2 separate regions of the Homo sapiens genome follow, and region 2 is linked to region 1. The links are contacts of gene promoters, found by promoter capture Hi-C in human tissues and cell types (Jung and others, 2019). All regions are on one chromosome and are shown on one strand. Each heading gives the region's core, a stretch centred on a gene start or on the middle of the fragment in contact. The rest is flanking DNA. Distances are from core to core; before and after follow the strand shown.

Region 1 (3,022 bases), core at 328-2,827:
CTGACCTCGGCATGCCCTGGGCAAGGCCAGGACCCCAGATGCCACCGTGATTTTCATGACAGCCCACTCTCCAGGGGAAAAGGCCCAAGGGTGAAGGGTGGTATGGGAATCTTACCACTGGTTGGGTTGTGTAAATCACTGCTACACAGTATGCATGTTCTCAAAATGCAGCTGTTTTCCGATAACCCTTTTCCTCAGCATGAAAACATCCACTTCCCTAAGGGACCTAAAATGAATCCCATCCCTTTAGTCCCCAAACACTAAGAAACCCATTTCTCAGAGCTTCTGCAGCAAGATGTGGGTTCAAATCCAGGAGCTCCCTTGGATCACATTTCCCATTGGATTTTCTGAGTCATCACTCTGTCTTCCCCGGCAGTGAAACCCACGATCCACCAGCTCAACCCCCTACACCCACTAGTGCCAGACAATGACAGAGAGAAGATGAAAGAAAGCACTAACCTGTCTCCAAGGTTCCTCCGGCAAAGGGAGGGAACCACCTGGTACTGGAGTTTGGGGTTGGAGGGATTCCCCTCTTCAGAGGCAGGTGACGGCTCTCATCCTCAGTGGCTCTTCCTGGACGAGGCTGAGCCTCCCAAGTTGGTGAGGGGAACTGGGTCCCCTGAGGATGAGGAGTCAAGGTTGGAGGAGGGGGAGGGGGAGGAGAAGGAGGTCCTACTTGGGGAAGGTGGCACACCCCCCACACCCTGCTTGTTACCCGGGGGAGGAGGGGAGGAGCCTCTCCCAACCAGGAGTTGTCTCCTCCCCCTTGGGGGAGTTCCCCTCCCCCCCAAACTGGATCTTTCTGAGGTGGAGGGCTCTTTCTGTCTGCTGGAGATAGGAGCGGAGGGGCTCCACCCCGTTCCACTGTCTAGGCACGAGGAAGTTGAGGGGGAGGTCTTCCCCTCTCCAGAAGGCTGAAAGCCGATTCCTCTTCTTTCCCTGGAGTGGCTTCTGAACGTAAGGACTCCTGTCTCCTGTGAATAGTGGTGGGCCGAGGGTGCCTACTCCACAGGCACAGCCCCGTCTCTCTTTGCCTCCAAAGTCCTGAACTGTTGAGAGTGTGTGTTTGGAGGGGCGGGGGCGCGCTAGGGTGGTCTCACTCTGCTTCCCTACGGAAAGCTCCCTTCTTTCCACTTCTGGGGGTCTCCTCCCCGGCCAGTACAGGGGTCTTCCTCGCCTCTAGGCAGGAGAGAGGCGTCCCCTCCAGGGGTCTCTTCTTTCCCTCACCCGAGTGGTAAGGGTCTTTTCTCTCCAACAGGGGGAGAGGTTGCTCGCGTCCCCGCTCCCGCCTCCGCTCCCGGGGTGCCCCAGAGGGTGGGGCTTTCGTACTCCCGGCTGTCCCTGAGCTGGCCTGGGCAGCACGGTCCGGGAGGCCGCGGCTCGAGACTCCGGTCCCTGCTACTGTGGCGGCAGCACCTCCTCTAGGGCCGTCCTGTCGGGTCCGCTCCCTTCGGCGCGTGGGGCTCCCCGCGCTGCCACCGCTCGGGCTCCGACCAGTCTGGGCTCCCGGGGAGCCAGAAGGCGGGCAGACAGTGTCAGGGCTCGGCGCGGGCTCGGGCTCGGCTCGGCTCCGCTGCAGGCCCCGGCTCCTCCCCGGCCTCCGCGCCGCGCTCCGCGCCCCTCCCCCTCCCCCGCCCGCCGGCCGCTGCCGCCACCGCCTCCCGGCGCGGGTTAAGGAGGAGCCGGGAGACGCCGAGCCGCGGGCAGCGCCGAGCCGCGAGCCTCGCTACCCGGTGTGCGCTCCGCCTGGAGAGCCACGGCCGCTCTCACGCCGGCGAGGGATCTCGCCGCCCTCGCCCACCTGCGGCCGCGTGGCTCCGGGAGTTCGCCGTCTACCCGGGATGACAACTCACTGCTCCCCGTCGGGAGAGTCCCTAGTGCGCACCGTATACCGTCAATTCCAGCTGACACCCCAACTCCGGCGTTTCATTCTGTTAAACTCCGTATACAGATGAACAGCCCCAGCTTTCTCAGGACTGTCTTTGATGGGCTTCTCTTTCCCTCGAGATAATTTATAAAGGATCATGAGCATTGAGGTGAAGATTGGGGTGAAGTTTATATGTTACCCTTATATCATCCTGGAATTCAGTAAATGCTCCTTGAATGAGTGGATACATGATAAATGAGCGTGTAACGGTGAAATAAACATCAGAAGATCTGGGTCCTGTTCCTTGTTTCAGCTTCCTAAACTTGTGCATGGCCCTTGTTCTCCGCAATCTTGCTCAGCGAAGAAGGGACCTTGATACTTGGCCTGCTTACCCTTTACAGCTGTCACATCCTGAAGTCATATTATTCTGCTGCAAATTCTCATATATTTCATACTCTGGCTTTTTTTTTTTTTTTTTTTTTTTTTTTGAGGTGTTGTTTCACTTATTGCCCAGGCTGGAGTGCAATGGCACGATCTGGGCCCACTGCAACCTACGCCTCCCGGGTTCAAGCGATTCTTCTGTCTCAGCCTCCCCAGCAGCTGGGATGCCTCAGCCTCCGGAGCAGCTGGGATTACAGGCGCGCGCCACCACGCCCGGCTAATTTTTGTATTTTTAGTAGAGATGGGGTTTCACCAAGTTGGCCAGGCTGGTCTCGAACTCCTGACCTCGTGATCCACCTTCCTCGGCCTCCCAAAGTGCTGGGATTACAGGTGTGAGCCACCGCGCCCGGCCCATACTCAGGCTTTTTAAACTTTTATCAAACTACCCTACTTTCTTTCCTTTCTTTCTTTATCTTTTTCTTCTTTTTAAATAGAGGCAGGGTCTCAGTATGCTGCCGAGGCTGGTCTTTAATTCCTGGGTTTAAACTATTCTCCCTTTTTATGCCTCCAAAGTGCTGGGATTACAGGCAGGAAACACGGCCCGGCCTACTCTCTACTTTATAGCACATAAGATAATAGGAGGCCAGGCGCAGTGGCTCACGCCCGTAATCCCAAAGCTTTGGGAGGCCGAGGCGGGGGGATCACTTGAAGTCAGGAATTGGAGACCAGCCTGGCCAACGTGGTGAAACCCCTGTCTCTACTAAAAATACAAAA
Region 2 (3,022 bases), core at 286-2,785, 320 kb after region 1:
GTTTACGGCCTCTCCCTTCCATTTTCCCAGTGAAGCTGTTAGTCTGTTTATTAACATTTAGCTGGAAAGCCTGTCTCAAAAATGTTGGCTTAGAGCCCGGACTCGGTGGCGCACGCCTGCAGTCCCAGCTACGCAAGAGGATGGACTGAACCCAAGTGTTCGATACCAGCCTGGGCAACATGGAGAGACCCACTGTCAAAAATAAAAATAAAAATAAAAATAGGACGGGCGCGCTGGCTTACGCCTGTAATCCCAGCACTTTGGGAGGCAGAGGTGGGCGGATCACGACGTCAGGAGATCGAGACCAGTCTGGCCAACATAGTGAAACCCTGTCTCTACTAAAAATACAAAAGATTAGCCGGGCGTGGTGGCACATGCCTGTAATCCAGCTACTTTGGAGGCTGAGACAGGAGAATTGCTTGAACCCGAGAGGCGGAGGTTGCAGTGAGCCGACACCGCGCCACTGCACTCCAGCCCGGGCGACAGAGACTCCGTCTCAAAAAAATATATAAATAAAAATAATGTTGGCGAGAGATTAAGAAAAACTTTAGGTTCAACTGAAGTTAAAGTTTCTCATATTGTTTCATTTTTTTTCCCTATCTTTTGTTTATTTGGTCTCTGTATTTGTTCCTTTTTACCGTTCCTGACATGTATTTGCTGTTGGGGAAGATACTGATGCAACGACGCTACGAGCCGCGTTCTGTGATTCCAATTATTTATCCCCAGAAACTGGTCTTAGAAATCTGAAGTACTGGCCGGGCGCAGTGGCTCAAGCCTGTAATCCCAGTACTTTGGGAGGCCGAGGCGGGCGGATCACGAGGTAAGGAGATCAAGACCACCCTGGCTAACACGGTGAAACCCCGTCTCTACCAAAAATACAAAAAAAAAAACGGGCGCGGTGGCGGGCGCCTGTAGTCCCAGCTACTTGGGAGGCTGAGGCAGGAGAATGGCGTGAACCCAGGAGGCGGAACTTGGAGTGAGCCGAGATCGCGCCACTGCACTCCAGCCTGGGCGACAGAGCAAGACTCCGTCTCAAAAAAAAAAAAAGAAAAAAAAAGAAAGAAATCTGAAGTACTCCTAAGCATAGTGAATAAAATAATACATTTCTCACCACCACCATCACCGCTTTTAATAAAGTCTTTGACCTCTCTGTGTTGACTCCCTCTGGTTTGAGGTTTACCTAAATACATTCCTCTTGCAAAGACTGAAGTCAACATTAAAAAAAAAAAAAAAAAAAAAAAAAAAAAGACGGCAGCCTTTTGACCTCCCAACCCCCCTATAGTCAGATAGTCAAGAAGGGCATTATCTGGCTTACCTGAATCGTCCCGGGAATTTTCTTCGGTGAGCATTTGTGGAGACCCTGGGATGTAGGTTGGATTAAACTGTGATGGGTCCATCGGCGTCTTGACACAACACTAGGCTTCTCCAGGATCTTTGAAACGTAGCAGAAACTGATGACAGAGCCTCAAATTGCTACCAGGTAGCCCGGAAAGAGGCTGAAAACCGGAGCTCCAACGAATGGTCAAAGAACTGACGTAAACTATAGGTCCGGCTTCCTTTTAAAATACAGATAAGCCAATCTTCCAGGATATTTGAATGTTAATGATCCCATGATTAGAGGATTAAGGGATCCAAATGATTAAAGGTGAATGGGTGTAGTTTAGACTCATAGGGTAGTTCTTCATCTGCTTTGCATTAAAATAATCTGTCGGATGTCATATCTGCTAGAAAATTTATTAAAATCCTCTTTTTGTGGTTCTGTCTCCCTGAGGTTGCCTTACATATAAGTTGTTTTTTTCTTGTTTTTTTTTTTTTTTTTTTTTCCCAAACTCTACTCCTGGAGATGGCTTCTGTTTTGTGAACTGGGCTTAAGTGTTCTAGTGCAGAGGAGAATGGCAGTTTTTACCGCCCCCGCCCCACCACCACCACTGCCCATAAACTCCCAATTAAGCTGAGAAAGTTTCCTTTAAGTTTTCCTTGCTTCAATCATCTTAAACCTTTGCTGCTACTAAGAAGAGAGGAATAATGAAGAAGTATCTGTTATGAACACTTTCATAGCTTGATATTTTAGGGACATGTATTTTTTATTTGTTAATTTGCTTTATAAACTATAAACAGTACCTAACATTTCTGAGCAGCTGAAATTAACTAACCTTACAAATTGCTACTCCCTCCCCACAAAAAAATGCTTGTATTTGTAGCAAAGCACAACAACATTTAACCACTGATTGTCTGCAGGAGGTGGAAGAACAAGTCCCCAGCTGCCCCTCTCATCTTTTTCCCGTCTTATTCAAATACGCACGTTCCCCCATTCCCTCTCTAGGTGGAAACCACGAGAAAATACTCAAAGGCAACCTTGTTTGGGTTTGGTAAAAAGCAAAAATTGAAGTTATGATTAAGAAATATTTTCATAGAGAATGAGCAGCCATAGGCATAGATCATGTCCCAACACTTTATGCAAGTGATTCTCAAAAGTGTGGTCTCCAGGATCGCTTAATCACCCAGCAGTTAAAGGCTGCAGTGACCTATGATCGTGCCACTGCACTCCAGCCTGGTAGACAGGGCAGGACCCTGCCTCTTGGGAAAAAAAAAAAAGTGCAGTTTACAACAAGCACCTAGTTAACTTAGATATACAAATTCTGAGCTCCAAACCAGCCCTACTGAATCAAAGACTGGCGCCCAGTGGTAATGCTTTAACAAGCCTCCCAGGCAATTCTGCATTTAGCCAGAAGACCCAGAAGTGATCCCCAGGTGATTCTGATGGGTGCTCAAGTTAAGCAGCCCTGCTTTACGGCACTGTGAACTTTCTACTTCTGTTGTTCAGCTCTTGGCTAATCTCCCTCTTGCCTGGGGAATCTCTGATAATCAGTCCGCAAGAATTTCACTGGAGAGATAAATACAAAAAAATCCCATTGCAGGGGGTTTAGGATTAGGAGGTGAGATAACAAAAAGGGCTGAAATAGACTCTCATTTGTAAAAAACCTAGGCTGGGCACAGTGGCTCACGCCTGTAATCCCAGCAC

Evidence for each region. The method cuts DNA at HindIII sites, captures the fragments that hold promoters and counts their contacts. A contact is called where the count stands out against the background at its distance.
Region 2: a contact is called between the fragment with the promoter of DPPA3 here and the fragment with the promoter of FOXJ2 in region 1, in 3 of the 25 tissues and cell types used here (mesendoderm cells, neural progenitor cells and thymus).

The regions. Positions count from the first base shown.
Region 1 is chr12:8,031,271-8,034,292 of GRCh38, reverse strand. It overlaps FOXJ2 (forkhead box J2), which reads right to left and starts at 1,577. Exons shown (of 11, transcript NM_018416.3): 1 at 460-1,577. RefSeq lists silencers at 1,483-1,722, 1,743-1,892. The HindIII fragment of the contact is 12,101 bases long and covers 1-3,022 here.
Region 2 is chr12:7,709,946-7,712,967 of GRCh38, reverse strand. It overlaps DPPA3 (developmental pluripotency associated 3), which reads right to left and starts at 1,535. Exons shown (of 4, transcript NM_199286.4): 1 at 1,316-1,535. The coding sequence starts at 1,397. The HindIII fragment of the contact is 17,940 bases long and covers 1-3,022 here.